Regions from separate parts of the Homo sapiens genome. Here region 2 is linked to region 1. The links are contacts of gene promoters, found by promoter capture Hi-C in blood cells and fetal thymus (Javierre and others, 2016). All regions are on one chromosome and are shown on one strand. The core of a region is centred on a gene start or on the middle of the fragment in contact, and the rest is flanking DNA. Distances in the headings are between cores, read along the strand shown. Region 1 holds the start of CHRNB3 (cholinergic receptor nicotinic beta 3 subunit). Region 2 overlaps VDAC3 (voltage dependent anion channel 3).

Region 1 (4,466 bases), core at 1,108-3,607:
TGTGATCTCGGCTTTCTGCAACCTCTGCCTCCCAGGTTCAAGCGATTCGATTCTTCTGCCTCAGTCTCCCGAGCAGCTGGGATTACAGGCGTGTGCCACCACGCCTGGCTAATTTTTTGTATTTTTAGTAGAAACGGAGTTTCACCATGTTGGTCAGGCTGGCCTCAAACTCCTGACCTCAGGTGATCTGCCTACCTTGGCCTCCCAAAGTGTTGGGATTACAGGTGTGAGCCATGATGCCCAGCTGAGAGCTTATTAGAAAATGGCTTTGTTTTTATTTCCTCTTGCATTCCTAGACACTGGAACCATTCCTAGGATACAGTAGATGCTCAATAAGTATTTATTGAATGAATAAACACATTGTGTCTTATCATATCATCATGTTGTAAGAGAGATGGGAAGATAAATAAGATACACCTCCTGCTTTTTGAGAGCAGATAGCACACACAAAATATGAAATAGCAATATGAGAGACAACCCATGGCCACACCCAAGGCTCCTTTTTACCAAAGCCAGAAATATAAAAATGAAGGGGTTGCCTCTTGTAATTTGAAAAAAGTAGTTTTGCATAACAAAAAGAAACTATTTTGTTTACAATGAATAGTAAAGTTAAAAAATGTAAGGAAATATGGGACAGATTTAAAAATATGAGCAGATGCTGATGGATCTAGAAATACAGATGTAAGATTTATCACAGGTTATTAGATTTATTATAGATCTGTGAAAGATTACACAATCTTCCCAAACTCTTCCAGCCCACACAATGGAGACCAATGCCAGAGGCCAAGCAATTCCAGTTTTCTTATGTAATCATGATTGTACACAGAGGACGAGACTTAGCTGAACCAAGAGAGTTTATGCTAAACACCCTCGCTAACCATTGAGAGAAATCATTCCTTGGGAAAAGAGTGGTAAGAATCAATTGTCTTATAATAAATAGAATAATAAAGACAGAAAAACATCAGACACACGTACATTAATGGTAAGCTCAAACACACAGAATTTTCTTATCATTTTTGTGATTGGCAAACTGCATTCAAGACTTTGAAAAGTCCAAATTTCATGATATTTGAAAGTGAGTTTGAGGCTTTCTGCATTTAGAAATTCCTGTTTGACTTTGAGTCCTTGGTCTGAGAAAAGGCGTTTTTGACAACAGGATAATGTTCAGGTGCCTCGCAGCCTTGGGAACTTGAAATGTAGAATTTATTTCTGGATTTGGGCAAATCTCCCTTAGTGTCTCCAGTTCTCCATTTGAAAATTACAATAATCAAACGTGGCAAAAATACTACTGAGAAATTAATACAAATTGCTAGTGAACTGACACTTTTCTCACCATCTGGCTGCGGTTTCAGATGGTTTCTGATTCAATGGGGGAAAACTTTCTGTTCTCAAGTTACACAAAAAGTGAAAAGATTCCCAAACCCAGGAAATTGGCAGGTGCAAATGACCAATCCCCAAAGCCTTTCAGTACTTTATTCCCCTTTCTTTTTCTCTTTTTGTTCTTTCTCTGCATCTCTGTCTCTATCTTTCACTTTTTCCTTTTATTTGTCCTTTATCCTTATCAAAAATTCCTCTATTTTCAGTTGATAATAGTCACATAAAACACATAGAGTTTTGATACATTGGTGTTTAATTGTGATATATAAACATGCTAAATCTACCTACATACACAGATTTATTAAAATATATAGGCCTACAGGGCATATTGGACAAAATTAAATATCTACATGCAGATATAGAAATTATTGGTAAATATGATAGAAAAATGTTGATATAGTAAATTTCTGTGCCAAATATTTGAACAATTCTCTGAGTAATGCTCAGTGCATTCAATAATGTTTTTCCTGCTTTTGTATTTTCTTACCAAGCTCATAGTGATTCAGAAGGAGAAACGCAGCAAATGACAAAAACATAAACATTATGAAAATCATAGATATGATTTCTTCAGCAAAAAAAACCCCACATCTCACAGAATTACTCATTTGGGCCACATTTTAAAGGTTATCCTAAATGTATCTTGTGCATTACATATTGTAATTCTAACATTATCAACACCATAGTTTTGCCTCCTCTGCTTAAATAATTCTGCAACTGTAGTTTTAATTTACTGTGACTTGTGCTTACCTGAGGAAGGGATGCCAAGGACGATGAGAACCAGCATAAAATCTGGGAGCATCGTGATGTCAGTTTCAGAAAGACAGTTTCTTCCTTTTTAACAACAGAGCATTTCCACTGGAAAAGGGGGTTTTGAAAAGAAAATACAGGGGTTCAAAATCCGAAGTGGAACCCAAGAGGACAGCAACACCTGGAGTGGAATAAAACAATCTCAACCCCTCTCGCCGAGTGTGCCGCTTCTCAAAGTGCACTTCATTGATTTGCAGTCAGCTGTCAGATCGTGTAAGTCTAAAACATATCTCTGGGTCCTAACTCCTGACTTATTAATTTACTCCCTTGCAAGAGATGCGGGGCACTGGAGAAAGGATGAAACTAGACAACTTCTGAATGTTCTGTGCTATTTTTCTTACAGTTGGAGATCTGCGTACAGAAGAACCACACTTTACCACATCCATAGTGAAAAGTTTCTCATCCCCGTTATTTCTCTATTCTCTTTTCTTTTTCTTTTTATTCTTTTTTTTTTTTTTTTGATATGGAGTCTCACTCTGTCACCCAGGCTGGAGTGCAATGGTGCAATCTCGGCTCACTGCAACCTCCGTCTCCCAGGTTCAAGCCATTCTCCCACCTCAGCCTCCTGAGTAGCTGGGATTATAGGCACCTGCCATCATGCCCAGCTAATTTTTGTATTTTTGTAGAGACAGGGTTTCACCATGTTGGCCAGGTTGGTCTTGAACTCCTGACCTCAGGAGATCCGCCCGCCTTGGCCTCCCAAAGTGGTGGGATTACAGGCATGAACCACTGCGCCCAGCCTCTCTATTCTCTTTTCCAGTTGGACCTGAAGTCATGAGTATGTCCTGGAGCCTCCCTATTCTGCTGGTTCCCACATGTGTTAATATCAGCACATTCTCTGTGGCTCCCTTGACCCCACCAGGCCCACCTTCTGGTCACTGCAGGGGACAGTAGGGTGGGAGGTTAGTGGTGTTTTATGTATGAGACTTGGACACTAATAACACCATCCTTTCTTCTTCACAGTTGATCAGATTTCATCTAGTTCAGTGCTGTGCACACCCAGAGGGCCCTTGATAAATGCATGATACATCAAATGAATGGCAAGTACAAAGTCAGGGCTAGACAGACAAGAGGGCCAGGTGGGAGCCAAGACCTATCTGGTTGGGAACTGAGTGCTGGAGGAACCCACTCCAGGGCATGGAGGAATTCTGTCTTAGCGGCAGTGATTTAGTCCAATTTTTAAATTTCTTAATTTAACCCTCCTCTGTGTGCCATTAGTGAGTTTGAGACACCCAGAGGGTGCTCGGTAAGGAGGCATCATGTGTGGAAAAGAGGTCTAGCCCAGGACCCCGGGACCCTGAGCTCTTGAGCCCTGTCTGTTCCTCAGGGCCCCTGTCTCAGAGCCCCTCACATCACAATGTCGCTGCCCTGCCTGGCCTCCCTTCCTAGACCACCAGCTCCTGCAGGAGGGCTTGGTCTCCAGCCCTCTGGAGTCTCCTCTGTATCTCTCTGTGTCCAGGGCCTGACACCTGCAAATGCTTGAGAACGTTGTGGGAATGCAAGGAGGAAGGAAGGAGCCATGCACTGATTTCCTCCTATCCATCTCAACTGTGCTCCCAGCCTGCTGAGAATTTGTAATGGTCTCAGGAGTAAATCAGCCACCGCCAATCCAAGTGTGCAGGAAGTTTCACCTTTATTTTCAAGAAATTGAATAAAATGAAGCTAGCCTTCCATGGAACTGGCTGGAAATCCAATCTCAGTCATTGCAGGCCCTGCAGCCTTCTCCCTAGGGGAGCAACTGAATCTGGAAGCCTTTTGTGGTCCCCAAAATATGGCACAGTCTTGTATCCTCCAGGCTGCCTTGACCACAGCTGGGGTCCATGCCCCACCCACACGGTCCCATGGAGCCAACAGCTCGGTTGCTCTTTGCCTTCTCCGATGCCAAGGATTCTGCCAAGACCCAGGATTCTGCCAATACCGGAGGCCTTGGTAACAGGACCCTGCCTCCCTGGGTCCCACACAACCCTGGCCTGCTGAGGACTGCACCCCTTGAGTGCAACCCTGAGCAGGGCACGGTCCTGCTGCCAGAAGGACCTGCCAGCCCCTTCCTATGCCTTGGGAAGTTCTTTTCTGTCTCACTTTACAGCCACCTTTCTCCCTGCAAAGATACTCAACTCTTCACCATCCCACTGTAGAAACCTCAAATCATCTCTCCATTGAGTTTAGACTTTGGGGGGAAAAGCGGACATCAAATAGACACAGGAAAAGAGGCTGTCTTGCTCTGTTGCCCAGGCTGGAGTGCAGTGGCGCAATCTCGCCTCACTACAACCTTCACCTCCCAG
Region 2 (4,334 bases), core at 689-3,188, 300 kb after region 1:
ACATGCATATAACATGCATATAGCTCTACATTAAATGCTTAGTAAGCAACAAAACAAACAAAAATGTTACTGTTAAGTAGATAGCATATGAGAAAAATATCAAGACACAATCTAAGAAATTTGGAACAATGATTGAAATTTATCCTAAATCAATACCAGAAACCAAAAGCAGCCATAAAAACAAGCATACGAATAAGCTTTTTTTTCTTACCATCTGAATGAATATTACCACACAACAGCAGCATGAAAGGGAGATAAAATTTTAGTTGATAATTTTTGCAACACAAACCTAATGAGCAAATTCTGGAACCTACACAAAATGAGAATGATTCTTCTATTTTAACAGAACTATATACACAGCGTGCCCATCTTAGTAAGGGAGGTGCATATATATTTATTTACTCCAGAGAAACCCAGGGAAAGAATGATGGTCACAAACCATGATTATACACAGTATCATTAGAATTCCACATGTCTTTGTCCTTCTAATTATACATTCAGAAATAAAATTTTCATGGGTTTGAATGGATAAATACCAAAAACGATGCAGCCAATGAGGAGAAATCAGAGTAAGGTAAATTAAAACTTAACCTACTTGCTGAGATTTATTAAATAAAAGCAATTTTTTCTGAGACGGAGTCTTGCACTGTTGCCCAGGCTGGATGGAGTACAGTGGCACGATCTCTGCTCACTGCAACCTCTGCCTCCTGGGTTCATGCCATTCTCCTGCCTCAGCCTCCCAAGTAGCCAGGACTACAGGCACCCGTCATCAGGTCTGGCTAATTTTTTTGTATTTTTAGTAGAGACGGGGTTTCACCATATTAGCCAGGATGGTCTCAATCTCCTGACCTCGTGATCCGCCCGCCTTGGCCTCCCAAAGTGCTGGGATCACAGGCGTGAGCCACCGCACCTGGCCTTTTTTTTTTTTTTTTTAAGACAAAGTCTCACTCTGTCACCCAGGCTGGAGTGCAATGGCTTGGTCTCGGCTCACTGAAACCTCCACCTCCCAGGTTCAAGAGATTCTCCCGCCTCAGCCTCCCGAGTAGCTGGGACTATGTGCGTGCCACCACACCCAGCTAATTTTTGGTATATTTTTAGTAGAGACGGGGTTTCAGAATGTTGACCAGGCTGGTCTCGAACTCCTGACCTCATGACCCGCCCACCTCGGCCTCCCAAAGTGCTGGGATTACAGGTGTGAGCCGCTGCACCCAGCCAAAAGCTATTGTTAATGATACTTTGAAAATATGCCAACATAGCCTTTACTGTAGTCTTTACTTCCAATAAAAAAAACTTTATAAACATCAGTTAAAAACTGTAGAATAATGTACATGCATACGTGCAGAAATACATTTTATTTACATATTTTGTTTCGACTAATCATGAAGGGGCAGAGTAAAGTTAATTTGTTTTTGTAAAAGGGTAATAAAATTTCCATGAACCCATTATCATGGAAGTGAGGTTTTTGGTGCCCATATACATATTCATGAAAGTATAAACATATGACATGGGTCAAAAAATATATATTCTACATCTTCTGAGTGAAAGCTGTAGTATACTCTGAGAAACACAAAAGGTCTCTTCAAAAATTCAACTTGGTTGTTTATTTTAATTGGCTAAGAATGCTGTTTAAAATCTGAGAGGACAAAGCTGTGGGGAAGACAGCATGGTGCTGGTTCAAGTAACTAGACTGTCATGATTTTAAACAGATTCCTTTAAGTTAATTATGTTACATTCATTAAAAATATATTAGATACTCACCACTCCACTACAAGACTTGGTTTTCAGGTCTATCTTGACCATGCCAAAGCCTATACACACACACACACAAAAACACAGTAATGTACAAAATGTGACATTCACTAGTTTTTGCAACTCAGAAATTATGAAATAGCCTATAGTACCTTCCATATGAAAAATGCATAGTATTTTCATTGGGTGAGAGTTCCTCAAGAAACTGAATTATAACCAAATAAATGCAGTATAATTTTCAAGCACTCAAAATGAATAAAGATATACTTTTAAAATGTAAGTTAAAGAAAAAAATAAATGAAAGGAATATGCACTATTCCAAGAATCAAAATTGCTGAAAATAGTGTGCTGCTATATATATCGTTTAAAATATAGTTAACATTACTAGTTAATAAGAAAAAATCAAATATGTACAGCACATAAATTTAAGTTAAATTTTAAAACCTAAAAAATATTTATTTAGGATCAGAATATACATTACTCCAAAGAAGTCAAAAGTTATGTTGTCACTTTCATAAAAACAATGCCACTGTTTGGAGGGAGGAAAAGTTCTACCCCCTAATTTAATTGTCCTCAGGGCCAGACAAAGAGACATAAATGTTATATATATTATTCTACATTCCAGATAACATTAAATATGGACATGTATATGCATCTGTATATGTATATAATTGCTTTTAATGCTTGTAAGGGGTTCTGCCTCTAAAGAATGAGGTCTAATAGCCTGTTAATAGTTATCCCCTTAAATCTTGTGAAGTGGAATAATGCTGACTTACCCTTATTTTACTAACACAGTATTTACACACAGTAGGCATTCAACACTAACCTTTACCCCAAACTGGAAAGTTACAATAGCATACTTACCATATCCTTTGTTGAAGACATCCTTAGCAGCCTTTCCTAGGTCACAGTACGTTGGTGTGTTACACATATCTTATAAAGAAAAACAGGGCAAAGGAATAAAAATAACCATTTAGTATTTATTCACCCACAGTTCTTCTGCTGTTTAATCCTGTGAGAAGGGGTATACAGTTTTCTCTTCCTGTGTATCATTAATGCTTTAATGCAATCAAAGGTATGAGACAGCAGTCTGCTCCTTAAAAAACAGACCTTTCCAGAATACTGAGAATAAAACAGTTTTCCCGTGAGATTCAGAGGTCATCTTTCTGATTGCATTTCAAAGAAAAGTAAGTTCTTACAGGATGAAAAAGATGCTATGTTAAACTGGACTTCTTTTAAAAATATATGCAAAATTTACCTTAGAAAAATCTCTCTCAGGCTCTTATGAAACCAAAGACCTGTATAAGACAACAATGGAAATTTTTAAAGAAACTGTTAAAAGATGCAATCAAAATCCTCAGGGTTAACATTTTTCTCCTCTGAAATTCAGTTCTTAAAATAAGAATTTACCATACGAATTGAAGTGTATTCATCTAGAATATATCTTCTCTCAAAGCTCTTCTTAAAGTGCTATAATTTTACCCATTAACCAGAAATATGACAGATTCTACCTGCAGCAACCTGCTTACCAAAAGTTAGTGTAAACTCTGAAGTTAAAGCCTTCAAAAACCTCAGGTGCCTTGATTTTTCATCTTGCCTACTAAAAATCTGCCCAGCTTTGCTACTGGTAATATGACCCTCATATCAAATTCTCAGAGCTATCAACACTGCTGATTATCTCATTCCTTTGCCCTCTTTGTATCATGGGAAATCTTTCTGCAGCAGGTTCTTCTGTATTCCTCTCGCAGACTCAAAAGCTATGTCTAACCAATTACAGAGCCACCTCTAGCAGTGCCATTAGCCCATATGTCAGAAAAATCCAGAGTACCAGCTAGCCCTTGCAATTGCTACGCCTGAATGATCTACACATTTAAGCTCATATTTATTTATATATAGCCCAGCTCTTAATCCAGACTTCTGCTAAGCTTCTGCCTACCCCATCATACCAAACATATACATATGATGCACTTAAATGGGAATGCATTTAAGTTTTGTTCCTTAACATAAACCTGTCAAATATGACAGACACTATGATATAAAGAGACTAGTATAAAAAACTAAAAAGAAAAAAAAATTAAAGAGGAAACGGTAGTATAAATGTACTGACTCATTCCATAGTAAAACTTTGCTCTAAGCTACCAGGTTTCATAATTCACTTACAGAACGATTATTTTACAATTCAATCCCTTGTACTAAAGTGATCAATTCTAGGCTTTTTATATTATCCCAATTGCAATTTGATATTACTCTTTATGATTACAACTGATGTTGATATTTGTTGAAATTTTGCCAGAAGTCTGTAATTTGGGAAGTAAGTATAGAAATGCAGGCAGTATATATTGAAATAGAAATGTTAAAGCTTTACAGTCTGGTTTTTCATACTGCCGAGAAAAGATACACTTAAATGTTTAGAAGCACTATATATACGTCTAGGGACTATTTACAATATTTCAGCATTTTGTTTTGTTATTTTTCAAAACCAGTACGAGATACTATGCAAAAGTCACGTAGCTGGTTTAGTATACTAACTGACCTCAATTCTGCCTAGTTCAAGCTGACTTTTTCAGGCCTATGACTCTGATGGG

What was found. The method cuts DNA at HindIII sites, captures the fragments that hold promoters and counts their contacts. A CHiCAGO score of 5 or more calls a contact.
Region 2: a contact is called between a fragment that was not itself captured here and the fragment with the promoter of CHRNB3 in region 1, in 1 of 17 cell types (M0 macrophages). The highest score is 5.4, in M0 macrophages.

What each region holds. Positions count from the first base shown.
Region 1 is chr8:42,695,257-42,699,722 of GRCh38, reverse strand. CHRNB3 (cholinergic receptor nicotinic beta 3 subunit) reads right to left here and starts at 2,357. Exons shown (of 6, transcript NM_000749.5): 1 at 2,125-2,357. The coding sequence starts at 2,176. LOC124900250 (a long non-coding RNA gene) reads left to right here and starts at 832. Exons shown (of 3, transcript XR_001745887.2): 1 at 832-911; 2 at 2,223-2,397; 3 at 3,148-3,225. The HindIII fragment of the contact is 9,513 bases long and covers 1-4,466 here.
Region 2 is chr8:42,392,558-42,396,891 of GRCh38, reverse strand. It overlaps VDAC3 (voltage dependent anion channel 3), which reads right to left. Exons shown (of 10, transcript NM_005662.7): 2 at 3,008-3,047; 3 at 2,614-2,682; 4 at 1,759-1,808. The coding sequence starts at 2,680. Among named protein-coding and RNA genes, the nearest start is that of VDAC3, 2.8 kb to the right of the region's middle. The HindIII fragment of the contact is 3,477 bases long and covers 200-3,676 here.